7 separate regions of the Homo sapiens genome follow, and regions 2, 3, 4, 5, 6 and 7 are each linked to region 1. The links are contacts of gene promoters, found by promoter capture Hi-C in blood cells and fetal thymus (Javierre and others, 2016). All regions are on one chromosome and are shown on one strand. Each heading gives the region's core, a stretch centred on a gene start or on the middle of the fragment in contact. The rest is flanking DNA. Distances are from core to core; before and after follow the strand shown. Region 1 holds the start of H1-1 (H1.1 linker histone, cluster member). Region 2 has its middle 15 kb from the start of TRQ-CTG6-1. Region 3 has its middle 4.8 kb from the start of TRV-AAC1-5. Region 4 holds the start of TRD-GTC2-6 (tRNA-Asp (anticodon GTC) 2-6). Region 5 has its middle 4.0 kb from the start of C6orf62. Region 6 has its middle 3.2 kb from the start of LINC02828. Region 7 holds the start of GMNN (geminin DNA replication inhibitor).

Region 1 (3,898 bases), core at 671-3,170:
ATGGCGTTTCTCCAGCACTGCCGCCAGGTACCACCAGCTGGGAGTTGTTCCTCTTGCGGAGCAGGAGGTGGACTTGGCCCAAGAGAAACTGGATAGTGGTTCGCAAGGAACATAATTTAGCATTGCCAAGAGCTAATGCAATCATTTTGAAAATCTCAAAACACTGAAAAGTGGATTGTGACCTTTTTAAATTCACAAGAGACAGGCCACATTCTATCTTTTGATTGGTTTAGGCTATTTTCTTGAACAGCCATTTAGAAAGCAGATCTATCATCCTTCATTTGCATGGAGCGTTCCCATTTTATTTGAAACCAGTTTAACCCAATAGAAAAAAGGGAGGCAGAACCCATTATTTAAAGTGGAAACTCCTGAATCAGATAATTAGGAGTATTTCCTTTTCAAAAGTTGCGTTTTTTCAGATACCTCGCTTATTACACTAAGAAAGGTTTATATCTTTCACAAAGGGTTTACTTACAAAAATCTTCCAATTTTGTATACCTGTGTTTCATAACTGACTAGCCGTCAAACCAAGATGTAGAGTTTCCAACCGTTATTTTCCAAATTTTTAGAAATTACGTGAAATATTTGAATGCATGCCTTCTCAATAAAATGGGACGTAGGAAGCACTGGTGCAGAAGATGGGTACAATACTTATCTGGGACCACTCCATTATTTGGTTGGCACGTTGTTTGAACAAAAAGGGGAAAAGCTCAGGTTACTTAGCATGGTTCGGACTTATTTGAAAACTACCACAGCAGGAGCGGAAATAAGACCGCATTACCTCACTCTCTGCTGTGCTGTGCTAGGGGGTTATCCAGAATAGGATTGTAGAAGTGGATGTCGATTTAATAGTTTTTTATTCTCCCATTAGCTGAGTCTCTGATTGGCAATGTGAGATCGTTTTAGCTTATTGATACTTTGAAATGCACTTAACAGCCACAAACAAGTTAAAGGGTTGTTACCATAAAATCTTATCCCCAGGGTGTGCTTGCATTTATCACCCGTGTTTGCTTTCACACTAAGTGGACTTAACTCCCCAGCAGAATGCCTGTCAGGGAACCGGTTTCGTGGACCCAGCATTTAACGCCTTTCGCAGGCTTGTGAGGCCCATAAATATTTGTTGAATAAAAGAATGAGTTGACCATGTCATGGTGCGCTGATTGCGTGTGCTGACATGGAACACAGGTTGTAAACCTTAATACCAATTTGGGGCATGTTGTATGGATGAAAAGGGCATTGGAAATTCCTGAAGTGCATCCCACATTGGACTGTGGAAATAAGTTGCAAGTGCAGAAACGTTTCCACACTTGCAGTTTGAGTATTAATTGCAGCGTTTGTGAATTCTGGTGTTGTCTACGATTCATTCTTGTTTGACGTGAAAGGTATTCGCGAGACACATCGCTCTAAAACATTGCCAGAAAATGTAATAGAGTTGATGACAACTGGCCCTAACACGGCCTAAAACTCGCACTTTTCTCTCCCTCCGCAACTATTCAAAACACTGTATTTTACATTTCTTGCAAATTAAAAACTAACATCTCTGGCAACGGACCTCTAAAAATTTCTAATAAAACTCCTCGGATGCTTGTGGCACTGCATTTGTAAACCGCCCCCTCTCAACCTACTCCCTAAAAAAGAGCTGCTTTTTGAGAGAGAAGCGGTACCCTCTGATGTTACTGGGCGGCAGTCTGCCTACAATTTCCTTCACAATGAGGCAACCAGAGCGGCTTTTTCTGTGTGTTTGCTTGCGTTGAGGGGAGCAGGACCATAGGCCCTAGAGGCCCCCAGCTGCCTTCTGAGACTGGGCGAAACCCTCGGCAGCGCGCAGGGGGCGCTAGGGCGCGAGGGGCGGGCACTGACGGGCACCAATCACGGCGCAGTCCCACCCTATAAATAGGCTGCGTTGGGGCCTTTTTTTCGCATCCTGCTTCGTCAGGTTTATACCACTTTATTTGGTGTGCTGTGTTAGTCACCATGTCTGAAACAGTGCCTCCCGCCCCCGCCGCTTCTGCTGCTCCTGAGAAACCTTTAGCTGGCAAGAAGGCAAAGAAACCTGCTAAGGCTGCAGCAGCCTCCAAGAAAAAACCCGCTGGCCCTTCCGTGTCAGAGCTGATCGTGCAGGCTGCTTCCTCCTCTAAGGAGCGTGGTGGTGTGTCGTTGGCAGCTCTTAAAAAGGCGCTGGCGGCCGCAGGCTACGACGTGGAGAAGAACAACAGCCGCATTAAGCTGGGCATTAAGAGCCTGGTAAGCAAGGGAACGTTGGTGCAGACAAAGGGTACCGGAGCCTCGGGTTCCTTCAAGCTCAACAAGAAGGCGTCCTCCGTGGAAACCAAGCCCGGCGCCTCAAAGGTGGCTACAAAAACTAAGGCAACGGGTGCATCTAAAAAGCTCAAAAAGGCCACGGGGGCTAGCAAAAAGAGCGTCAAGACTCCGAAAAAGGCTAAAAAGCCTGCGGCAACAAGGAAATCCTCCAAGAATCCAAAAAAACCCAAAACTGTAAAGCCCAAGAAAGTAGCTAAAAGCCCTGCTAAAGCTAAGGCTGTAAAACCCAAGGCGGCCAAGGCTAGGGTGACGAAGCCAAAGACTGCCAAACCCAAGAAAGCGGCACCCAAGAAAAAGTAAATTCAGTTAGAAGTTTCTTCTAGTAACCCAACGGCTCTTTTAAGAGCCACCTACGCATTTCAGGAAAAGAGCTGTAGTACACAGATGAAATCCCCCAAGCAAATGCAACACGCCCTCAATTATATTAGAATCACTTGGAGAGTCGATAGAACTTTAACATAGCCTCATCTAGTAAGAATTTACTACTCAATCTATCAAAGATAGCAAGGTGAATTCAAATGCACCGAGTTAAAATCGAGTTTTAAAGTCACCTGGGTTTCGGTAGCCGGAAGTCCCGCGTCTCACGACTCCAAGCTAATTAGTCATAACCGTATTGAACCAAGGTTGAAGCCCAGTCCCAGGCTTGAGGCTTTTTATTATACAAGGTTAAAGTGGGGATATTGCGTTTTGGGGTCAATATTGCTAAAGTAGCATTTTCCGAAATTGGGTGGTCCTAAGAAATGCTTCTGGGATAGTTGGCAAAATATATGGCTTAACCACGCCCTCTCCACAGGAGTGGCTAGCGAGCTGTCTGTCCTTGGGAAGGACGGTGACCCTGCTGGCGTGGCTGGCGCCCACGTTGGCGTCCTCTGAAAGCCCCGCCAGGTAGGCCTAGCTCGCTTGCTTTCTGCAGCGCCATCATGACAAAGCTTTGAAACGCAAAATGCTTTCTTTGTGCAGCGCCTTACCATGGGTGCACTTACGGGCTGTCGACTTGGTTTAGGCCCTTGTCAGGACAAAGGAGCTTAGTTTGTTGGAGTTTTAGAGCTGCAACCCAAAATCCCTTGCTCGGTTTCTCTGTTTTTAGAAACGGAAGCGCCCTGATTGGATATTTGAAAATTACTGTGCTTAACTGGATCGTGTTTCATCAGTCGTGCAGGATTTTCAACCCTGGTGGAGCCCACACATTCAAAACTGAAGATCCTTTTCTCAGAACTGCCCCTTTAAGCTTTTGCAATTTTAATTCTGGGGGTCAGATTTTAATAATTGGACTTTTTTGTTTACATCTGACAAGAGTATATGATGAGCCAAGTTTACTCACTTTTACTTAGTGCAGTTCAATTCTAAAAGTTTATTTTTGCGTGTGTGCATATGAGTTAATAATCAGTTGTATTTTTCAAACGGTCTTTTTTCAATTGTTTTGCTTAGCTCCTTCCATCGTCTAAAGTCAGGGATACAGGCACATCACATCCCTGTTCCCCCTTCCTCAAACTAATATGTAGCTACCTAGGTTTATCCTTTAAAACAAAAATTCTCACCTATTTTTGTGAGAAATATACATGTTTTTCTTTGAACT
Region 2 (3,898 bases), core at 412-2,911, 1.8 Mb before region 1:
AGAGATATAATATATATAATATATATTTAGAGGCCATCTTCTCCCCACAACTGTGGAAGGTAATTCCTCAAGAAGGGGGGGGGGAAAAAAAAAAAAAAAAGCACCCTTCTTTAGCAGAGGATGGTTTAGATCCATCGACCTCTGGGTTATGGGCCCAGCACGCTTCCGCTGCGCCACTCTGCTAACGGAAAACACGCTTCTACTCTTCTTATTTATCATGCAGGTGATCAGCCATTTTGTTGTTGTTGTTGTTGTTGTTGTTACACTGTTTTGCCTCTTTCTGTTTTTCTTTCACTGTTTCTTTCCCGGTTTTTCTTTTTTCCTCTTGGCCTCTTAAGATCAGCTCACTCTAGAACCAGTTGATTCCAACAATCCCCTTCAAGTTGCGAGTTGCCCTTTCCAAATCTACCAAACATGCTTCAAAACCTGACATTTCTTTCTTTAAGAGCTGCTTTGGGCTCAGGAGCAGAAACAGGAGAAAAGTCAAGCAAAGCCCTCAGAAGCCCTTAGAGAGAATCGAGGAAGGCATTAAGTCAGACTACTCTCCTTAGAGAGAAAGTATATTAGCCAGTTCGCTTGTTTCCTGTCCCCAATAAAATTTCTTTCCCAACACTAGAAGTATTTTTGCGTATTGACCTAGAAGTATTTTTGCATATTGACCTAACGCCTTTTGCAGCTTTCCGGGCGCCTGGTGTACCCACGCAGCCCCACCTTATCCCCACCCCTATCCCTGCCGTTGAATTCATAAAAAGGGGCTTCCTACCCTAACCCTTTGGTGTTATGTCTGCGGACAGCTTTCACTTTCAGCGAATGTGGGCTTTCCCAGCCAAGGGCCCAAACAGAGACCTTTGATACTCCTTCATCCTGTGCTATGTCAAGAAAGTCCCTTCTGAAACTTTTATTTTGCTCTTTTCACCAACTTGCTTTTCCCGTTTTCTCAGAGTTTCTCTGTCTTCAGGAAAGCCTTGTGTTTCCAGTTCCAGGTCAGGCATAGGATTGGTGGCCATTACTCTCCACCAATTTCATTTACGTTTTCTTTCTTTTTTTTTTTTTTTCCTTTTCTAAAAAGACAGGGTGAGACACTGAGGCAGATATACTGGGGTTAGGAAGATATCCCAGAATAAGAGCATGAGAAAGCAGGCTGGAATGGTTCATGTGGACAAGATGAGTCCTAAGCAAAACTGAACCAGGTCCCACCAGGACCTGACGTGGGGCCACTAGATTTGGAGCCATGGGTATTAACTATCACAGCAGGGAGCCCCAACCCCTGGGCCACTGACCCGGTACTGGTCAGTGGTAGTGGCAGCCTGTTAGAAACCGGACCACACAGCAGAAGGTGAGCAGCAGGAGAGCCAGTGAAGCTTCATCTGTATTTATAGCTGCTCCCCATCACTCTCATTACCGCCTGAACTCCACCTCCTGTCAGATCATCTGAGGCATTAGATTCTTATAGGAGTTCTAACCCAATTGTAAACTGCCCATTTGAGGGATCTATGTTGCCCACTCTTTATGAGAATCTAATGCCTGATGATCTGTCACTGTTTCCCATAACCTCCTGATGGGACCATCTAGTTGTAGGAAAACAAGCTCAGGGCTCCGTCTGATTCTACATTATGGTGAGTTGTATAATTATTATATATCACAATGTAATAATAGAAATAAAGTGCACAATAAATGTAATGCATTTGAATCATCCTGAAACCATTCCCCTCTCCCCCAACCCCTGTCCATGGAAAAACTGTCTTCCATGAAACCAGTCCCTGGTGCCAAAAAGGTCTGGGACCGAGGCATCACAGCACTGAATTGCTGCTTACACTACAGGTGTTGCCAGAGGGCTCAGAAGGGTTTCCAGAAGCCAGTGAGACCCCAGCCCCAGCCCCAGCCAGTTTCCAGGTTCTTGACACCTTCGTAAGAAAGAATTCAGGGAGGAGTCAGAATGAAGCCAAAGGCAAGAAGCTTTTATTGCTAAGCAAAAGTACACACTTAGGGAAGTGTGGGTGAGCTCATGAGAATGAGTCGTGCCCAACAGAGTTTGAGTTTTCTATTTTTATGGGCTCTTGTAATTAGAGGGTGGACTAATCATGAGGTTTTCTGGGGGAAAGGCGAAGGTTTCATAAAATTGAGATGCCACCCATTTTTATATTAAATATGGGCGTACTCGATCTGTCAGGGCGCTGGTGGGTGTGTAATTTCGTATGGTAATTAGCATATAATTAGGTCTTGGGTAGGGCATGGGTCAAATCCAGCGCCATGTTGGACCCAGACGGTTTCAGACAGCTTAGCCACCATCCTGTTTGTTAGGGTCTTATCAGCCCAAGTTCTTTCTTGTCCTTGTAGCTAATTTTAACAGCTCCTTTTTTGCTGTTATGTGAAATTACTGCTTGATGTTTCTCCTATGACTACCCAGCATTCCTATCAAATAGAGATGAGATTTATCACCTTCCTTGTTCCCCTGGCCCTCTCACTCCACTAGCATGAACCCTTCAGTGACTCAGGTGCCTGATCTCAGCCTCTTTCAGAAAATAATCTGAGTGGAAAAACATTTTTATAGCCGCAAGCCAGGACTCCTCCCCTCCCCTCCACCAAATGCCCTATTTTCCTCTCAAAGGGGTTTAGGTCTGTGTTGCATGGGCCTTCTCTGTGGGGAAAAGCAAGAGAGATCAGATTGTTACTGTGTCTGTGTAGAAAGAAGTAGACATAGGAGACTCCATTTTGTTCTGTACTAAGACAAATTCTTCTGCCTTGAGATTCTGTTAATCTATGAACTTACTCCCAACCCCGTGCTCTCTGAAACATGTGCTGTGTCAAACTCAGGGTTAAATGGATTAAGGGCGGTGCAAGATGTGCTTTGTTAAACAGATGCTTGAAGGCAGCATGCTCGTTAAGCGTCATCACCACTCCCTAATCTCAAGTACCCAGGGACACAAACACTGCAGAAGGCCGCAGGGACCTCTGCCTAGGAAAGCCAGGTATTGTCCAAGGTTTCTCCCCATGTGATAGTCTGAAATATGGCCTCTTGGGAAGGGAAAGACCTGACCGTCCCCCAGCCCGACACCTGTAAAGGGTCTGTGCTGAGGAGGATTAGTATAAGAGGAAGGCATGCCTCTTGCAGTTGAGACAAGAGCAAGGCATCTGTCTCCTGTCCGTCCCTGGGCAATGGAATGTCTCGGTATAAAACCCGATTGTACGTTCCATCTACTGAGATAGGGAAAAACCGCGTTAGGGCTGGAGGTGGGACATGCGGGCAGCAATACTGCTTTGTAAAGCATTGAGATGTTTATGTGTATGCATATCTAAAAGCACAGCACTTAATCCTTTACCTTGTCTATGATGCAAAGACCTTTGTTCACGTGTTTGTCTGCTGACCCTCTCCCCACAATTGTCTTGTGACCCTGACACATCCCCCTCTCGGAGAAACACCCACGAATGATCAATAAATACTAAGGGAACTCAGAGGCTGGTGGGATCCTCCATATGCTGAACGCTGGTCCCCCGGGTCCCCTTATTTCTTTCTCTATACTTTGTCTCTGTGTCTTTTTCTTTTCCAAGTCTCTCGTTCCACCTTACGAGAAACACCCACAGGTGTGGAGGGGCAACCCACCCCTTCATTCTCTCTTCACTAGAAAACCAGTGAGGAAGTGGAAGGAGGAGACTGAGCACCTGCCATGTAATATGCAGTGGTGTACCTCACTTAATGTGCAGCAGGAAGAGCCGCAGACAAAACCCCTCAGACACCGAGTTAAAGAAGGAAGGGGTTTATTTGGCCTGGAGCATCGGCAAGACTTCTGTCTCAAGAACCGAGCTCCCTGAGTGAGCAATTCCTGTCCCTTTTAAGGGCTCACAACTCTAAGGGGGTCCACATGAGAGGGTCGTGATCAACTGAGCAAGCAGGGGGTGC
Region 3 (3,898 bases), core at 973-3,472, 1.7 Mb before region 1:
TGTCCTCCCATAGTAATTGAATCCATCAGCAGTGACCTAAACCTGTGAATCCAGAGAGCTTACATGGCTCTGTCACTCCCACAACCCTCAGAGCCTGATTTCAGCCCTTTGGGGAGAGTTTTGATTGGCTCTAGGGCTTTCTAAGGGATGCAGGATAAATTACCTGACTTTAACACCTTCTCTGTGGATTTTTCTGGGCCAAATCCACAGAAGTGAAACACTAGAAACTTCCTTCTTCAGTTCTTTGAATTCAGTTTTAAGATCAGTGATATTTTTCTGTGAGGAAGCTGCCTCTCTTTTTAGTTAGACAGAGGTACAAGGCAGGAAAAGACTTTTTCTTTTCCCTTTTTTTCTGTTTCCTTAAAACACACAAGATTGAGCTCAGGCATTCTCTTTATCAAACTCTTCCTGTAGCTGAAAGAGGGTCTGGCTGATTGTCACTTGTAGAAAAAAGCCAAAAGAACAAGAATGAGGCCGGGCGTGGTGGCTCATGCCTGTAATCCCAGGACTTTGGGAGGCCGAGGCGGACGGATCACGAGGTCAGGAGTTTGAGACCAGCCTCGCCTATATGGTGAAACCCCGTCTCTACTAAAAATACAAAAATTAGCTGGGTGTGCTGGCGTGCGCCTGTACTCCCAGCTACTCAGGAGGCTCAGGCAGAAGAATCGCTTGAACCCAGGAGGCAGGGCTGCAGTGAGCTGAGATCGTGCCACTGCACTCCAGCCTGGGCAACAGAGTGAGACTCCATCTCAAAAAAAAAAAAAAAAAAAAGAAAAAAAAAGGAATGAGGTGTAATTAAAAATAGAGTAAGTTTTATTATCCATGCTAGCAATGGGGAGAGTGGCTGGCCAAAATTTGCCACTCTCCAATTTCTGGAGAGAGGCCAAGCATTTCAAGGAGAGGAGCTTGTAATGCAGAGGGGCAAGAGGCAGGAGGTGCCCAGTGGGTGTCTCATTCTGATGGCTTATCTTGAATTATTGTTTCACCTGGTGAAGGGGCCAGTGACATTGTAGGCCCAATCAAGTTACAAATTAATGACAGTCAATCTTGCAGATAATCTCTAGCCAAGAGTGAATATTGTCCTTGAATTAATCTCCTACTGGAGAGAGAATTCTGGAGATGTCTGGTCTGCATCAGGATTCAGCCCCTGAAGCTTCTAAGGAAATATATGACCAGATAAGTGGGCATGGTATGAGCTTAACAAGCATCCAGGTAAATAAATGAGCATAAGGCATGGGGGCATAAGATGCGAAAGGGAAGGCAGTTTTAATGCCCATTCCAAGGCAGTAATTGACGACAAAAGAAAGCACATCTGCAGTTTGTCTCAAAGCTATGTCTAGAAACTGGGGAGAAAGAAGAAAAGAAACAAAGTTTTTAAAACGTGGTTTGAAGCTAAGCTGCTTGGTTACCTTCCAACCTTCTGCAAGATTTTGCTGTTTTTTGTTATTATTAAAACAAGTAATAGGCCAGGCGCAGTGGCTCACACTTGTAATCCCAGCACTGTGGGAGGCTGAGTCAGGCAGATCACTGGAACTCAGGAGTTCGGAGGGGGAAAAAAACCAAGCCTGCGCGCTCTGAGCCCCACCCCCCATTCCCCATGGTGTCTGAGTAGGCTCCCAGGGCGAGCAGGATCCCTCCTCACAGGCGAGACTGGCTTCCTTGGAAAACCAATAGTCGGACTTGCGAGTTTTCCTCCAAGATAATTTTCTCAGGGACTTCTAAATGTGGTGCTGTACGCCTATGGTCCTAGCTACTTGGCAGGCTGAAGTCGAAGGATTGCTTGAGCCCTGGAGGTCTAAGCTGTAGTGAGCCGAGATCGCGGCCACTGCACTCCAGCTTGGGTGACAGAGCAAGACTCTGTCAAAACAAACAAACAAAACACACACACACACACAATGTAAACCAGGAATAGAAGGAAACTTCCTCAACTTGATAATGCCCAATTATGAAAAACATACAACTAATATCATTCTCAACAGCGAAAGACTGAAAATTTTTCTCCTACAATCAGGAATAATGGGTGCCCACTTTCACCATGTTATTCAGCACAGTATTGGCAAGGAAAAAGTAAAATTATCTATGTTCACAGATAACATGACTTTTTTTTGAGAGAGAGATGGGATCTCTCTTTGTCACCCAGGCTGGGATGCAGCAGAGCAATTATGCCTCACTGAAGCCTCGACTTCCCTGGTTCAAGCGATTACCCTGCCTCATCCTCCGGAGTAACTGGGACCACAGGCGCCTGCCACCATGCCCGGCTAATAAAAAAAATTTTAGAGACTAGGGTCTCGCTATGTTGCCCGTGTTGCCCAGGCTGGTCTCGAACTCCTGGGCTCAGGCGATCCTCCTACCTTGGCCTCCCAAAGTGCTGGGATTACAGGTGTGAGCCACCAAGCCTGGCCGTGACATGATTTTTATATATAGAAAACCCTGAAAATTACACACACACACTCAAACACACACACACACAAACTGTTACAGCAAATAAAGAAATTTAGCAAAATAAGGATAAACAACCACATGAGTTCCAGCAGAGAGCGCGGTGGGAAGCGGAGCGCGGCCAGCTGCTCTGGGGCCCTGCAGACCCTCTGGTCTTGGACCTGAGGAGGAGACGGGGGCCCGGCCCCGCGGCGGCCTCTGCTCTGCAGGCTCCCAGAGTCCTTGCTGTGTCTCCCACCGGCCAGGCCCAGGCCTGAGGCAGCGTCGAACCTCTCTTCACTTCCCACCTCGGTGACCTGGTGGCCCTCTGGTCTTCCAGAAAACCCTGCCGGGCCTAGACTAAGCCCCCGCTGGCCGCCAGGACGCAGCGCCTTTGTGTGGCGGCGGGTGTCGGGGGCGGGAAGAATCGCGCGGAAGCTGCCGGGGTGTGCAGGGACCGGGAAGGCGGAGCTAGGGATGCAGGTTCGGTCGCCTCTTTAGGCCACTGCGCCACGCAGATTGGGTCCAGAAGGTGCCGTTAAGTTTCTTCCCAGAAACTGTCAAGGTGCTGGTATGTTTCTTGCCCTTGCACTTTTAGTGTACTAAAATCAACGGCCAAACTCTACTCTTTATAGCAATCAAAGTATTCACCCATGCGCCCAATTTCTTTGCAAATGCCAAGCAAGAAAACCTCAGGTAGATGGAGGGAGCAGATAATTTGACTTTTTTTTTCTTTAATTTCACTATAGTGTCCTCCTCCACACATACAAGGATGAAGTTTTGTTTTTTAAGATGAAACAAATTTGTCATTAATGAAAGGATTGTCAAAATCTTCCCAAAGGTCCTCAGCTTCTGAATCACCTGGAAGCTTCTAAAAATTAAGACTTGTGGGCCATACCAGAGACCCTCTGCACTAGAAGGGGGTATGGCAAGGAATCTTAGGAATAGTCCACCTGGAGAATCACTAGCGTAAGTTCTGGGCCTCACATTCCCTCAGAAGAGTCCCATGAACCTGTGGTCAGCAGCTTAGGGCTGGTCTTCTTTACTGATCTGAGGGACAATGGGAAGCTTAGGACTCCCTGCATGGCATCTCTCCCGCCCAGGGGAGAACAGCTCAACAAATTTCCTCATTAACTACAAAGTTAAATGGAAGCATATGCTATGAAAATGCCACAAAAAGCTGTTGCTAGATGAAAATGTCTAAATTTGCTTTAAATTATCATGGGGGCTTGGCAGAGGGAGGAGAGACTAATTGTTGAAGTAGGATCATGGAAATAAGGAGGTCCATAATATTCTCTATAATCTTTTTTTGTCATAAACAGGGGTTTATAAAACTACCTAGTATAGCATGGTGGTCAAGAACACCAGTTCTGGAGACAAACACACCTGGTGGTGTCCTTTCCTAGCTAGCATAACCTCAGCACATTGTTCAAGCCTTAACTTGCTCAAATGTAAACCCGAAATGACAGGGATAGATCTT
Region 4 (3,898 bases), core at 371-2,870, 1.5 Mb before region 1:
GGTTAGTATTTCTGAAGTCTCAAAACAACAGCCATTTTACCAATGGGGCTCCAACTGGGAGAGGCATGAACATCAACCTCTGTCTCCCTAGAACCATGCAGCTACTGGATCTCTACAGATCATTAGCCTTCCAGTTGCTCTTTCCTGTACTGGAACATCTTCCTGTGTAGGTACAACTTAGGAATTAGCCAGTAATATAAGGAGAATTTATAATACAAATTTGAGATCTTTCTCTGTGGTTCCCTCATCACTTGAATTTTGACCATCAAGTTCTATGCACGTTGGTAGCCCCAAACTCTGACCAGTATCTCCTTAGTCCAGCACAACTGCCTCTTTCCACATGAGGTCTATTCCACAATGGTGCAATACGGGACACACCTTCAGGAGGAAAGCACTTTCAAATGTGCAAACTCATATAATGTGCTTCCCTTCTCTCAAGGATTGTAGTTTGTCAAGCCTTGCCTGGGTTGACAGCTTATCAGTGCCTTCAAACAGTTGCTTTAAGTCGGGCTTGGTGGCTCACACCTGTAATCCCAGCATTTTGGGAGGCTGAGGCAGGTAGATCACGAGGTCAGGAGTTCAAGACCAGCCTGGCCAACGTGGTGAAACCCTGTCTCTACTCAAAATACACGCCTGCAATCCCAGCTACTCGGGAGGCTGAGCCAGGAGAATGGCTCGAACTCAGGAGGCAGAGGTTGTGGTGAGCCAAGATTGCGCCATTGCACAGCAGCTTGGGCGATAGAGCGAGACTCTGTCTCAAAAAAAAAAAAAAGCCAGAAACAAACAAACAAACAAAACAATTGCTTTATAGTTCTTATCCACGATGAATCATTTTTCTTCTAGATTAAAAAAGAAATAATAGATTAAAAGGAAGTAATAGAGACAAACGAGATTCAATGTTAGGTGAAAAGGATGAGGCATCAATCACTCTACTGTTCAATAGTGTTAACGAAAAAAAGAATCCATTGGCTGAAAGTGTTGCACAATAATATTAACTTTTAAATTTGATGGCCAAAATTTCATGACAAAAATGTTAATAATAATTATTTTTCTTTTTTTTTTTTTTGGAGACAGAGTCTTGCTCTGTCGCCCAGGCTGGAGTGCAATGCTGCAATCTTGGTTCACTGCAACCTCCGCCTCCCGGGTTCAAGTGATTCTCCTGCCTCAGCCTCCGAGTAGCTGGGATTACAGGTGCCCGCCACCACACCCAGCTAATTTTTGTATTTTTAGTAGAGATGGGGTTTCAGCAGGTTGGCCAGGCTGGTATCGAACTCCAGACCTCAGGTGATCCACCCGCCTCAGCCTCCCAAAGTGCTTGGATTAGAGGCATGAGCCACCTCGCCTGGCCAATAAGTATTTTTAAAACAAAATCAGACATATTGTTATATGCTGGAAGAGTATTCTTTCATTAAAGAAGCAATGCTGTTGGCTTTGATTATGGCTCACAAAAATATTGCTTTTAATATTCATCCATTCAGCGTTGGTCGAGGGTATATACTAGGTACACTTCTAATTCCTACCTTATTATAAAGGAGCTTAGAATGATTTGGATTTCGCCATACCTTTCCATTTTATATTGTCGTTGCTGTTTTGAAATTTAGTACCATTTGTTTTCATATTCCAACATGTAATCATTACGAAACAATGTTGTTTCAGGCATTCACTCTTTATGTAGCTTTTGTCACATGTTATGAATTTTCTTGCTCACTTATAACATTTTGAATCCCACTCCTTCATCAGTTCTAAATTCCTATTCATTAATGTAGTCGTCACTCTTGTCATATGCATTGTTCAAAATTGTATATTTGCCCTTTTACATTTTAATTCGTATATTTTCATTTATAGTTTTATTAGGCTTTTCTCCTTTTAACTTTCCATTCTGAAATTATTTTAGACTGACAGACACAGTACATGAATAATACAGATAATTCCTGAGCACCCTTCACCCCAATTCCCTCAATATTAGCACATTAAGGATATTCCTATATTTTCTTTTCCTTCTCTCTCTCATATATATACATAAATGTATATTTCTGAACTATTTGACAGTGAGTTTGAAGACACATACCTCCCCTTACCCTTAAATACGTATTTTGTAAATAGGTGTGAATTTTCTTAAAGACATTTTGTTCTATAACCATAGAACAATTAATACAATCAGGAATTCACATTCATAATATTATAAAATCTATAGACTTTATTGAGATTTCACCAACTATTTCAATAATGTCCTTTAAGATAAAAATTCCAGACCATATGTTGCTGTCATATCTTTAAGATCTTCTATAATGTGGACTATTTAGTCAGCCTTTCTTTGTGTTCTGTAACTTTGTTATTTTATTTATTTGTTTATTTATTTATTTATTTATTTATTTATTTTTCCTCCCTGCTTGCCTGTTACTAGGTTGATGCAAAAGTAATTGCAGTTTTTGAGGCGTACAAGTCAGTTATTTTGTTAAAATCTCCCTCAATATGGGTTTGTCTGATGTTTTCTGATTTAGATTACATATTTTTGCCAAGAATACCACAAAAGTGACGTTGTGCTCTCATGAGCACATCCTGTAAAAAAGGTATATAATGTAGATTCGTCCCAATACTGATTCAATCACTTGGGTAAGATGGTATCTACCCGGTTTCTCCACTGTGATGGAGATTACAGTGCAGAGTGGAAATTTTCTTGCTATTACAGAACCTCATGATTTCTACAGCTTATGGTTTTTGCGATCAGTATTTCGTTGGTTTGAAAGAACTCTGCTAAAGAAAAAGAGAACCCAACATTTGCCCAGAAGACTAGAGACTGTGTTTACCGGAAGTGTGCTTTTCTAAAAAAAAGTTTAAGCCTCCTCCCCGTCGGGGAATCGAACCCCGGTCTCCCGCGTGACAGGCGGGGATACTCACCACTATACTAACGAGGAATTGACGTGAAAATGGAGCTCTTAGGAAATCCCTGTGAAGTTACTCGCTATTGTCCATCTTTCTTTGCTCTGTAGTCACACGTTTCCCCTACCAAATATACGCAAGGCAATTCAGCGAACGTGTCTCCGCCCAACCGCGAATCCTCTCCAGTTCCTCCTTCATTCCTCGGACGCTTTGTCAGACCCTTTTAAAAAAGAACTCTCGCTAGCCTCCTTTGTGACGCACTGGTTTCCGTCTATGTTCAACCATGGTTGGAGCCCTAGCTAACATAGGAGTTACAAATCCCGAAAGGTGCATCGGTTGGTTTCAAAGACAGGAAAAGCAGAGGTGGGACCAATACCTGCGCTCCGTTGAGGTAAAATAGATAAAGAGTCTGCAGATGTATTTTTAAAGTTCAGGATGCGTCAAGTGGCACGCAGAAGCTTTATCACGAGTTCCCTCGCCCCCAAACTGAAAGCAAATATGACATCGTATTTCCTCTCTGAAGTAAATACGATTCCTCTCTGTTCTCAGTAAAACATCCCGAAGTCGGCAAAAGTTCAGGCTGCGTTAAGTGGCACGCAGAAGCTCTATTACGAGTTCCTTTACTCCCAAACTGAAAGCAAATATGACATCGTATTTCCTCTCTGAACTGTTCTCAGTAAAACATCCCGAAGTCGGCAAAAGTTCAGGCTATGTTAGGTGACACGCAGAGGCTCTATCACGAGTTTCTTTACTCCCAAACTGAAAGCAAATGTGAGATCCTATTTCCTCGCTGAACTGTTCTCAGTAAAACATCCCGTAGTCGGCAGGATTCGAACCTGCGCGGGGAGACCCCAATGGATTTCTAGTCCATCGCCTTAACCACTCGGCCACGACTACACGAATGGAGAAGGCTCCCTTCACATCTTTAAACAGAATTTACACCAGCTAACTGACAAGAAACGGTCAAAAGAACAAAATACGGTAAAAATGGTTTCCTGGGCAAGAAACTGGAGTCTGC
Region 5 (3,898 bases), core at 1,399-3,898, 1.3 Mb after region 1:
ATTTCATAGCACTAATGAAGGGACAAGATGTTTGAGAACCCTGAGAAGTCTAATATGCTTGAGCATGTTGAGAAAACTAGATTTCTGTAAAAGAAGAGCATGTGTGTACAGACAATGTATGTTTTAAAGGTAAAAGAAAAGGCTGGCTCTTTTTAGAAAAGTGAAGGCCAATTGTTAAATACTTTATTGTTTATCTTATTGTCATTTATTTAGGCTACACAAGCACAGGTTTGAGAAATCATTTCCTAACTTGCTATAAATGTCAGAGACTGGGATTATCCGAGGTTGTCCTTCTTTAAAGATTGGAAGTTAACACAGGAGCCCGCCCAAGCTGGCCTGCATTGTGTTTCTTCAGAAAGGAGGCTCGCACAGAATCTCTATAAGGTGTTATTTCATTAAAATGTAACCTTTGCAGTGATATCTGCATTTCAACCAGGGAAATTTCAATGTATCTAGTGGTATAATTTAAAACTCCAAAAGGGAAGTTAAGCAGATATTTTTAGCCAAGGTGCCACCATCAAATCATCACTCCACAAATCCTATTGTGTTTGAAGCAGCCTAACCCTAAGTAAGCCATTTCTAACACAATGAAATGCATTTCTCCACAGTTAAAGAAGCTAAATCTTAAGTGAATGCTCTCTGACTTTTATCTGAATTTCATTGAGAAACGTTTGGTCACGGCTTTTAAAAATTTTAATTCCTTCGACTACCTTCTTATTTTATAGCCCTTTCAAGTTACAGAGAAAATTGAGCTAGCAGTGTTTTCGTCCTCCAGGGGACATTGCTGCTATTTCTTGGCTCATCTCATTAAGACCTAGCACAGTCCCATAACACAGTTTCATAGGATGTGCTCAGCTGTGACCAGGTGTCTCCAATTCTGTTTCACAGTAGCTGAAACTAAAAACTTCATTTTTTCCTCAACATCTGCTCCATACTGTTTTTTTCAGGATTATTATAGTAGTGAAAAAATTCTTCAATGGTGTATTAGATAAAACAACAAAAGCACAAGGGACAAATGAAAAACATAGATAAGTTGGACTTTATTAAAATTAAAGACTTCCGTGCTGCGAAGGATATCACCAAGAAAGTGAAAGGACAGCCCACAGAATAGGGGAGCGTATTTGTAAAGTATATATTTGACAGGGAACTTGTATCTAGAATAAAAAACTTCTACACCTTAATAATTAAAAAAACAATTTTTTAAATTAAAAATGGGTAAAAGGCCGAGCTTGGTGGCTCACACCTGTAATCCCAACACTTTGGGAGGCCGAGGTGGGTGGATCACTTGAGGTCAGGAGTCTGAGACGAGCCTGGCCAACATGGTGAAACTCCGTCTCTACTAAAAATACAAAAATCATCCGGGCATGGTGGTGGGGGCCTGTGGGCCCAGCTACTCGGGGCTGAGGCAGAAGAACTGCTTGAACCCAGGAAGCGGAGGTTGCAGTGAGCTGAGATAATGCCACTGCACTTCAGCCTGGGCAACATAGCGAGACTCTGTCTCAAAAAATAAATAAATAAACAAGTAGATAAATAAAAATGGGCAAAAGTTCTGAATAGACATTTCTCCAAAGAAGATATTAGAACAGCCAATAAGCACATGAAAAGATGCTCAACATCATTAATCGTTGGGGAAAGGAAAATCAAAACCACCATGACATACATCATACCCACTAGGATGGTTATACTAAAAAAGACATAATAACAAGAATGTGGAGAAATTGGAATACACTGCTGGAGGAAATGTAAAATGATGCAACAGACTTGGAAAACATCTGGCAGTTTCTCACATGGTTAAAGATAGAGTTAACATATATCCCAGTAATTCCACTCTTAAGTATATGCCCAAGAGAATTAAAAACATACGTCTATACAAAAGCTTTTAAGTAAATGTTCATAGCAGCATTATTTATAACAGCCAAAAGGCAGAGACAACTCAAATGTCCATCAACTGATGAATGAATATAGAATTTCATACAATACATATTATTCCACAATAAAAAGGAATTAAGTACTGATACATGCTACAACATGGATGAACCTTGAAAACATTATGCTAAGTGAAGAAGCCAGTCACAAAAGACCACATATTAAATGATTTCATTTATATGAAATTTCAGAAACGGCAAATCTATAGACAGAACATAAACTAGAAAGAAGAGAAGTGACTGCTAATAGGTACAGGGTTTCTTTTTGGGGTAATGTAATGGCTGCACAACACTGAATATATTAAAAACCATTGGATTGTACACTTCAAGTAGATAAATACGGTATGTGAATTATATTTCAATAAAGCTGTTATTTTAAAAATTCTTCCATGAAGTTGATCATGGATACAAGTCAAGGCCAGGTCAAGAACATATAAGCCGGCTGGGAATGGTGGCTCATGCCTGTAATCCCAACACTTTGGGAGGTTGAGGCAGGCGGATCACCTGAAGATCATACTGGCTTGTATGTCTCATATGTTTGTTTGTTTTTTTTTTTTTTTCCGACGGAGTCTCACTCTGTTGCCCAGGCTGGAGTGCAATGGTGCGATCTCGGCTCACTGCAATCTCCGCCTCCCGGGTTCAAGCGATTCTCCTGCCTCAGCCTCTCGAGTAGCTGGGACTGCAGGCGCCTGCCACCAAGCCAGGCTGATTTTAGTATTTTCAGTAGAGACGAGGTTTCACCATGTTGGCCAGGCTGGTCTCGAACTCCTGACCTTAGGTGATCCGCCTGCCTCGGTCTCCCAAAGTGCTGGCATTACAGGCGTGAGCCACCATGCTCGGCTTACTTTTAAAAATCTTTCTTTTTTAAACCAATGCTCTAAACTACGTGACATTTTCTGTTTTATCTCTGTGAGCTTTCCATAGTTACATGATTTTGAAAACAAATCAGCAAAGCACTAGCAAAATGCAAGCTGTATCTTCCGAGATTAGAAGTTATTTGGAAATCTCAGGACTCATCCTTTGGTTCTGGACAATTTATATTGAAGGGTGGGTACCAGTTATTCTTTTGGCTCATGGCTGAAATAATGTTATTACAGCTGATCTGTTTTGACTTCACGAAGTGAAAAGTAGTAATTGGGGTCCCAATGGACTTCTAAAATCTCAGAGTAGCCAATGAGTATATAAGCATTGCTTATGTGGAGTATTGACCTTTGCTAAGTACTTACATAACTGTGTTTTAAAGAGCACATTAGAGCTTTGAAAAATGGACTCAACGCTTTTTGGTGCCAAGGACGTGCGACTCGGCGGCAAACGTTTCGATGAAGACAGTGAACCACCTAAGGGGCAGGCTGTAGGTCTGAGGTCTTGGGGGATTCTAACAGAAAGTGTGTTCTGACAGCAGTGGGTAAAAATCCACGAGTCAGACTGGGCTGCTCCTCTCCTAAGCCACAGCAGCAACGTCTGAACAACGTCTTTGACCTTGTTCGAAGCTTGAGGACCGCCCTCCCTGCCTGCGCACGTGGCGGGGTGGGGACAGAGGCAAGTAGCACTAACATGAGACATCTGCTCCCGCACGCCGTTTAAATTCCAGGTGTCGAATTGAGTTCTAGGTTTGTTGCCGCAGGATACCGCGGGGCCGACCCCCAGGACTAACTAATTATAAGAATCGAAATAAGAATCTTCCAATCTCCAACACACACTTTCCTTTTCCTTCTTTGCTCCGCCCCTACCCTCGCCCACTCTCCGCCGACTTCCGCAGTTTTGGCCCGCCCAGGTCGCTAGTTCGGCTCTGTCACGCGCCCAGCCTGACTCTGAGAGGCTGACGAGACTCGGGAAGTGCGACTCCATCCGGGTGTTTTGTTGAGGATGGTTGAGGGCGTGCTTTTATGACGACATCGGGGCGGGGCGAAGAGCCAACTCAGGAGACTGGGACTTCCTGAAGAAGGGGGGCGGAAGGAGTGGCGGGGAGCCCC
Region 6 (3,898 bases), core at 580-3,079, 1.3 Mb after region 1:
TGTCTTAGTCTGCTCAGGCTGCCATAACAAAACACCACAGACTGGATAGCTAAAACAACAGAAATTTATTTTCTCACAGTTCTCTGGGTCAGAAGTCCAAGATCAAGATTCTGGCAGGTTTGGTTTCTCCTGAACTCTCTCTCCTTGGCTTGCAGATGGCCATCTTCTTGGTGGGTCCTCACATGGCTTTTATTTTATTTTATTTTTTGCACCAGAGGCAGGGTCTCATTCTGCTGCCTCAGACTCCCGAGCTCAAGCAATGCTCCTGCTTTAGCTTCTCAAGTTGTTGGGATTACAGGCATGCACCACTGTACCCAGCAATGGCCTTTCTTTTGTGCATGTATTTCTGGTTTCTCTCCCTTTTCTTATAAGGACATTAATCATATTGGATTGGAGACCACTCTAATAACTTTTTCACCTCTCTAATAATTTTTTAACCTTAATCATCTCTTTAAAGGTCTTATCTCTAAATACAGGCACATTCTGAAGCATACTAGGGATTAGGATTTCAATATATGAATTTTGGGGAGGCACAATTCAGTCCGTAACAGTTACTCGCACCAAAACTTGGGTGTCCTCTTCACTTACCTCTATCATTTTCTATCCAGATATTTTACTTTCTAGATTTTTTCTATTAAGTGTTTAAATTCATCCTTTTATCACCATTGCCAGTGCCATTTTCAGGCCTTAATCAACTCTAAATTTCCATGCCTGGTCTTTTATAAGGCCCTCTGTAATCTGACCCATCTTGTCTTTTCTTTTAGTATGTTTATCATGTACATTGTAGAAAATATAACACTAAATTTTTGTGTCTGGCTACTTTCACTCAATAAAAAAGCAACAGTCCTCTTCCCTACCCAGACCCATTTCCCAGATGCAGCCTTCATATAGTTGAAAATTCAAAAGGTACCAAAGTCTACACTGTGAAAAATCTCCCTCCCACAGGCAACCAACGTTATTAGTTTATTGTATATCCTGATCTTATAGCTAGTTTGTACCCATGGGTACGTCTACTCATTTTCCCACAAATGGCAGTGTATTAGCCTGTTCTCATACTGTTATGATGAAATATTCACAATTGGGTAATTTATAAAGAAAAAGAGGTTTAATGGACACACAGTTCCATATGGCTGGGGAGGCCTCACAATCATGGCAGAAGGTGAAGGAGGAGCAAAGGTACATCTTAAATGGTGGCAGGCAAGGGCAGGTATGCAGGGGAACTGCCCTTTATAAAACCATCAGATCTTGTGAGATTTATTCACTATCATGAGAACAACATGGAAAAAACCCACCCCCATGATTCAATTACTGCCCACCGGGTCCCTCCCATGACACAAGGGGATTATGGGAGCTACAATTTGAGATGAGATTTGGGTGGGGACACAGCCAAACCATATAAGGCATCATACTGTAGACACTGCTTTACCTATACAAATTGCAATTTTCATTTAATATAACAAAAATAGCAAGCAGTTCTCAAGCACTTTCTATTTTTCTATTAGTATTCTGAATGCTTTGCATGTTTTAACTCATTTAATCCTTGAGATAACCTCCTGGAGTAAGAGCTATTATAATCCCCATTTTACAAATGAGAAAACTGAGACACAAAGCCTAGGATTGGCAGAACTAGATTTGAACCCAGCAGGCAAGCCCTCAGAGCTCAGTACTTAACCATGATAGCATGTTACTATGTCTTAGGGATTGTTCTATATCTGGACATAAAGAATGTTTGCATCCTTTTTAAGCTTTTCTTTTATTGGAGTTGAAACATATGCTCAGGAAGGTGCACAAACCATATGTACAGATGAAGGAATCATTAGAGAGTGAAGATACCTGTATAATCACCACCTAGCTCAAGAAACCAGAACCCCAGAAGCACCCTCTCCTCTCATGTGCTCCTAATTAAAGCTTACAGCGATTATAAAATATAGTCCCCAAATACTACTTTGACACCATTCCTCACATCGAGAAATAATGTCTCTATCTCCTGCCCTTGAATCAAGATTGACAGCTTAACCCATAGAGTACTGCAGAAGTGATACTGTGCCAGTTTTCAGGCCAGGCCTTAAGAAACTGGCAGCTTTCTCTTCCTGTTTCTTGGGATGTTTGCTCTTGGAATCCAGCCACCATGATAAAGAAAAACCATGCAGCTACATGAGAGGACAAGTGTAGGTATTCTGGCCAACAGTCCCTGAGGTCCCAGCAAACAGTCGGCATTAACTGCCAGACATGTAAGTGGGTAAGACTCCCAGTGATTTCACCTCCAAGTCTCAAGTCCCCAACAACACCCGCCCTCACTGCCCCCAGCCTTTGAACTGTCCAAGCTTATGCTGTTGAGGCAGAGATGAGCTGTCCCCTCCAAGCCCTGCCGAAATTGCAGACTTGTTGGCAAAGCACATTGTGGTGGTTGTTCGAAGTTGCTAAGTTCAGAGTGGTTTTTTACTTACCAGTAGATAACTAGGGCACTATTTTCTTTTTCCTCCCAAGGGTAATCACTATCTTGACTTCTGCTACTATAGATTAGATTTGTTTTTCTTCAACCTATATAAATATAGTCTTATATGGTTATATAGTTTGTATTATACAAACTTATATAGTTAGCATTATTTTGTGTCTGGCTACTTTCGCTCAATGTAATGTTTGTGGGATTCATCCATGTTGTTGCATGTAGCTATCATTTATTATTGTAAAACATTTCTTTGTATGCCTATATTATATCACAATTTATTTATCCATTCTACTGTTGATGGACATTTAGGTTAGGTTATGTTTTATTTGGAGCTACTATGAATAATGATGCTTTAAATATTCTTTTTTTTTTTTTTTTTTTTGAGATGGAGTTTCGCTCTTGTTGCCCAGGCTAGAGTGCAATGGCACAATCTCGGCTCACCGCAACCTCCGTCTCCTGGATTCAAGCGATTCTCCTGCCTCAGCCTTCCGAGTAGCTGGGATTACAGGCATGGGCCACCACACCCAGCTAATTTTGTATTTTTAGTAGAGGTAGAGTTTCTCCATGTTGGTCAGGCTGGTCTCGAACTCCCGACCTCAGGTGATTCACCCGCCTTGGCCTCCGAAAGTGCTAGGATGACAGGCATGAGCCACCGCGCCCGGCCTCTTTTTTTTTTTTTTTTAATATATAAAAATGCTTTATTTTACTCTTTCCATCCTGAATAAAAGTTTAGCCAGTTATAGAATTGTGCTTGACATTTGTTAACCTTAGTACTTTGAAGAAATACACACTTCGTCATTCATTGCCTTTTTTCTTCAAACATTTTTCTATTCTCTGGTGGCACTGATTTCTTTCTTCTAATTTGTTAATTTTTAATGTTTATGTATACATAATAATTGTGCTGCCATGAATATTCTTAACTCCTTACAAAGTAAAATGAGATCATTTGTCTCCTTACTCTCTCTCTCATGTATCTTTCCCCCTCCACATTCCAACTTCTGTCAGCTATGTCTTTAGTTTCACATTGTCAAGAGGGACAGCATTTATATTCTGTGCATGACAATATTCAAGGAGTGTATGTTATTTTTATAGATTTGTTCTAAGAGTGTAATGCCAATATATAGGGTTGCATTATTATGACTATGTAAATACTGTTCACTGTAGAACAAAATATTGTGCCAGGAATAATGCCCTCCTGGCAAGTTCCATTATCACAATGCCTGGGCCATTCACAAGAAAGTGTTATTTTTGTTTGTTTGTTTGTTTTGTTTTTGAGACAGGGTCTCACTCTGTTGCCCAGGCTGGAGGGCAGTGGCATGATCTCAGCTCACTGCAACCTCTGCCTCCTGGGTTCATGGAATCCTCCCACCTCAGCCTCCCAAGTAGCTGAGACTACAGGAACATGCCACCATGCCCGGCTAATTTTTGTATTTTTTGGTAGAAACAGGA
Region 7 (3,898 bases), core at 824-3,323, 1.2 Mb after region 1:
AAAAATGAAATTAATGTATTTTAAACCAATTTCTAAAACTGGTTTAAAATTTCTAAACATATTGTCCTGGATTAAATAGTCACCAGAAAAAGCAAAATAAACAGATACTAGGGTATGCCCAGGTCCATCCTAAAGAGCAGCATCTTAACTTTCCTGATTCAAAGACAGATTTAAGGTATAATAAACTGGGCTCTGACAATAACTTAACACAGACTTAATATCTGGTCAAATGAGATCATGCATTTACATTTGTAGGAAATGTTTAACCAGTAACATGAACTGAAGGACTAACAAGCAAGAAAGAGGGAAAAGGTAGAAAGGGATCTATGTAATGCGGTTGACTAGACCACTGGGCCAAACTCAGCATCTGAACTGCTGCTCCACTGCCCACTGCCCACTGCCCACTACCCATTGGCCCCTGCCGTGTCTGCGCCTGTGCCTCGTCGATAGATGTCCCTAATTTTTGTGGCCATGCCTTTACTCAGTGCAGTGGCTTCTAACATTAATACATTTTACCTTGTGTCCTGGCGCGTGCACACACATGTGCAAACAAAAAAGCTTAGGAAAGGCCGGGCGTGGTGGCTCACATCTGTAATCCCAGCACTTTGGGAGGTCGAGGCAGGCGGATCACCTGCATGATCACCAAAGTGCTGGAAGGTCGAGGCAAGCGGATCACCTGAGGTCAGAAGTTCGAAACCAGCCTGGCCAATATGGTGAAACTCCATCTCTACCAAAAATACAAAAATTAGCCGGACGTGGTGGTGCTCGTCTGTAGTCCCAGCTACTCGGGAGGCTGAGGCAGGAGTATCGCTTGAACCCGACAGGTGGAGGTGGCAGTGAGCCGAGATCCTGCCACTGCACTCCAGCCTGGGCAACAGAGCGAGACTCCGTCTCAAAAAAAAAAAAAGCTTAGAAAACAAAACAATCTAATTTGTGCGGGCATCCTGCTATTTTCTACTCTATTTCATGTTAAGAAAATGGTGTTCGGGCCCCAGTAAACAGACCCTACGCAATGTTCTTCAAACTGCGGGTCGCGGGCCGTGATCTCGAAATTAGTGAGTCATGAGCAACACTGCTTAGAAAAATGCAACTGAACAGAATGGAATTGAAGAGACGAGAAACATTGCTTCCATCACGTCTCATTTGGTTAGATAGCTGTGTCCTAGGTTGCGACGTAAAACGTACCTTAGTGTGAAAAAAGCTGAAAGCCACTTAGCATTCTAATCCTTCACAAGTTTCCCACGCCTGTCAGCGACCTTGCAACCCTTACTTGTTATTCTCCAGTTCCTTTAATAGCTAGATTAAAAACCCTGGCACAGGACAGGGTCCATGCGAAACCCGTATCAACAACGCCAGTATCCGTTTAATGGGAGACGCAGAATTCAGCCACCTCTTTCCATGAGCCAAATTTGCAGATCCCTCAGATCAGGACCAGCCACTTAACTGCCAAGAGGATGGATGCTTCGCCTCATCCCCACAGCTGGCAAGCCCAGGCTGAGTCCCTTACCCGCGTTGCAGTCCCCAAGCCCGGACCCAGCCAACTTGTCCCGGAGGCCCAGCGCCAGGCTAGGGGGCGGGCAGTGTGGCCCCGCGCGTCCGAGCCTACCAACCGCGGCGCGCGCCTCGGGAACTGCGCCAGCCAGCCAATAGGAAGCGCGGAAGTGAGAGCGCGCCAAAACCGACCCAGCCAATGGGGCAGTCCCTCGACTCACCTCCCAACCCCGCCCCGGCTCCCGCGACCGTTCAACAACCCCTTCGCCCTTACCCAGGCCGCGGCCCTGCAGCTGTCAAAGTAGGACGCGGCTTCAGAGGTTGGCCGGAGGGAAAGCGAGTCGTCTAGAGGCTGTGCGCCTTGCGCCCCTGCGTACCCACTTCCTGCCGCCTCTTGCCCACTTACTGGGTGGAGACGCTCAATCCTCGTAGCGAACGCACGTAGCTATGGCTGCAGCACCTCGCAAAAGGCCACAGCTCACCTACGCTGATCCCCACGGTCGCTGGAGTGCCCGGCGCGCTCTGCAGTAAAGCCCTGCTAACTCCGCTCGCCCGCTCCGAACAACCACGTGACCAACTGACGCAGACGAGGGGCGGGGCCTCTGGATCCCGCGAATCGCCTCTTCCCTCGGCCCCGCCCCTTCCTGCGCCTGCGCGGTCAACGGTAGCGAGTACTTGAGGACCGTGGGGGTTTTCTGCGGGCTGGGAGGCCTGTGCCCTTTGACCCTCCCCTCCGACCCTGCTCTTGGAACTTCCTTAAAATGCAAAGTTTTAGCCCTTTACGAAAGGGAGAAAGATTTGCCTCCATTAGTCGTTAGCACCAGAAGAACAAAATATTGTATGTGCATATATATTAATATGTAGTACACGACATATATTTGTGTAAAGCCCTGGCTCCACGGACTCGTAGTTGTATTAGGGGCTTTTATATTTTGGCTTTTTGTGTTTTGACTATGGTGTGGTGCGGTAGGAATTGTTCAGGAGACAACCGATTATCAGTTAATCCTGCAGCTATTCATTGAGCGCCTTATACGTGCCAATTACTACTGTTCTAGGCACTGAAATTACAACTGCTGTTGCAATTTGAAGGAGCAGAAACACCTTGGTAATAATTACGTCTAGCCTTTTCCTTCTTTTTTTTTTTTTTAATTGAAACGGAGTCTCGCTCTGTCACCCAGGCTGGAGTGCAGTGGCGCGATCTCGGCTCACTGCAAGCTCCGCCTCCCGGGTTCAAGCGATTCTCCTGCCTCAGCCTCCCGAGTAGCTGGGACTACAGACAAAGGGAGACCCTGTCTCAAAAAAAAATTAATTTTAAAATATTTTAAAAATAAAAAGCAGAAGGAAGGCGTTATCGAGTACAAATAAGGGACATATTACCAAATGCAATGTATGGATCTCGTCTGAACTAAACACTGTATTTAAAAAAATACCCAAGGGAAATTTGAACACTGACTGAATATTTTGGGATGGTAAGATATGAGTTGTTTAAGGTTACCTGATGAGCAATGGGTTAAAAAAAGAGATTAGTTGTAATGACAATATTGTGGGTTTTATTGTAATAGCTTCTACCTATAAATGGTAATTACAGATGAAATTTTATACCATATATTTTATTTGAAATAATTATTGAGAGAAGCAAGGGAAAAGGTATAAATCAAGCTTTCTCAGTATGGGCTCTATTGACATTTTAGACTGGGCAAATTGTTCGTGGTGGGGGCTGTCCTGGGCATTGTATGCTGTTTAGCAGTATCCCTGGCCTCTACCCTCTAGCTACCAGGAGTACATCCCAATTGTGAAGACCAAAAATGTCTGCAGACCTTGTCAGATAACCTTCCGCAGGGCAAAATCATCCCCAGTTGAGAACCACTGGTGCGAATAAAACAGTATTGGCCTTGTGTTGATAACTGCTGAGGCTAGTATGGATGAGTACATGAAGATTTTTTATTCACTCCCTCTACTTTTATATCTGTTTGGGATTTTCAATAATAATTTTTTTTTTTGAGACGGAGTCTTGCACTGTCACCAGGGCTGGAGTGCAATGGTGCAACCTCGGCTTACTGCAACCTCTGCCCCCCCCGGGTTCAAGCGATTCTCCTGCCTCAGCCTCCCAAGTAGCTGGGATTACAGGTGCCCGCCACCACACCCAGCTAATTTTTTGTAGTTTTAGTAGAGACAGGGTTTCACTATGTTGGCCAGGCTGGTCTTGAACTCCTGATCGTGTGATCTGCCCACCTTGGCCTCCCAAAGTGCTGGGATTACAGGCGTGAACCACTGCACCTGGCCAATAATAAAATTTTTAAAATATTAATTTAAAAAGGATTAAATGATGGGATAAGGAGGTAGAAATACTGGAAAATGTTTAGCCATAAAAATTTCAGCAACCACTAGGCACCATGGCTCATGCCTG

Evidence for each region. The method cuts DNA at HindIII sites, captures the fragments that hold promoters and counts their contacts. A CHiCAGO score of 5 or more calls a contact.
Region 2: a contact is called between a fragment that was not itself captured here and the fragment with the promoter of H1-1 in region 1, in 1 of 17 cell types (M2 macrophages). The highest score is 7.6, in M2 macrophages.
Region 3: a contact is called between a fragment that was not itself captured here and the fragment with the promoter of H1-1 in region 1, in 1 of 17 cell types (fetal thymus). The highest score is 5.5, in fetal thymus.
Region 4: a fragment that was not itself captured here is called in contact with the fragment with the promoter of H1-1 in region 1 in 6 of 17 cell types (naive CD8 T cells, fetal thymus, total B cells and 3 more); the score reaches 8.0 in naive CD8 T cells.
Region 5: a contact is called between a fragment that was not itself captured here and the fragment with the promoter of H1-1 in region 1, in 1 of 17 cell types (M1 macrophages). The highest score is 5.1, in M1 macrophages.
Region 6: a contact is called between a fragment that was not itself captured here and the fragment with the promoter of H1-1 in region 1, in 1 of 17 cell types (M0 macrophages). The highest score is 5.3, in M0 macrophages.
Region 7: the fragment with the promoter of GMNN here is called in contact with the fragment with the promoter of H1-1 in region 1 in 1 of 17 cell types (monocytes); the score reaches 5.3 in monocytes.

Annotation. Positions count from the first base shown.
Region 1 is chr6:26,015,809-26,019,706 of GRCh38, reverse strand. It overlaps H1-1 (H1.1 linker histone, cluster member), which reads left to right and starts at 1,920. Exons shown (of 1, transcript NM_005325.4): 1 at 1,920-2,675. The coding sequence starts at 1,975. The coding sequence ends at 2,622. It also overlaps the pseudogene H3P26. RefSeq lists an enhancer at 2,728-3,727. The HindIII fragment of the contact is 5,921 bases long and covers 1-3,253 here.
Region 2 is chr6:27,774,170-27,778,067 of GRCh38, reverse strand. No RefSeq gene overlaps it. Among named protein-coding and RNA genes, the nearest start is that of TRQ-CTG6-1, 15 kb to the left of the region's middle. RefSeq lists a silencer at 126-185. The HindIII fragment of the contact is 595 bases long and covers 1,364-1,958 here.
Region 3 is chr6:27,756,361-27,760,258 of GRCh38, reverse strand. No RefSeq gene overlaps it. Among named protein-coding and RNA genes, the nearest start is that of TRV-AAC1-5, 4.8 kb to the right of the region's middle. The HindIII fragment of the contact is 2,133 bases long and covers 1,156-3,288 here.
Region 4 is chr6:27,478,691-27,482,588 of GRCh38, reverse strand. It overlaps TRD-GTC2-6 (tRNA-Asp (anticodon GTC) 2-6), which reads right to left and starts at 2,915; the gene lies at 2,844-2,915. TRS-AGA2-2 (tRNA-Ser (anticodon AGA) 2-2) reads right to left here and starts at 3,777; the gene lies at 3,696-3,777. RefSeq lists a silencer at 2,803-2,862. The HindIII fragment of the contact is 3,440 bases long and covers 1-3,340 here.
Region 5 is chr6:24,721,178-24,725,075 of GRCh38, reverse strand. No RefSeq gene overlaps it. Among named protein-coding and RNA genes, the nearest start is that of C6orf62, 4.0 kb to the right of the region's middle. RefSeq lists enhancers at 3,079-3,168, 3,219-3,268, 2,860-3,653, 3,399-3,898. The HindIII fragment of the contact is 1,539 bases long and covers 1,879-3,417 here.
Region 6 is chr6:24,737,162-24,741,059 of GRCh38, reverse strand. No RefSeq gene overlaps it. Among named protein-coding and RNA genes, the nearest start is that of LINC02828, 3.2 kb to the left of the region's middle. The HindIII fragment of the contact is 163 bases long and covers 1,748-1,910 here.
Region 7 is chr6:24,773,112-24,777,009 of GRCh38, reverse strand. GMNN (geminin DNA replication inhibitor) reads right to left here and starts at 2,073. Exons shown (of 7, transcript NM_015895.5): 1 at 1,766-2,073. RefSeq lists an enhancer at 1,079-1,158. The HindIII fragment of the contact is 2,242 bases long and covers 911-3,152 here.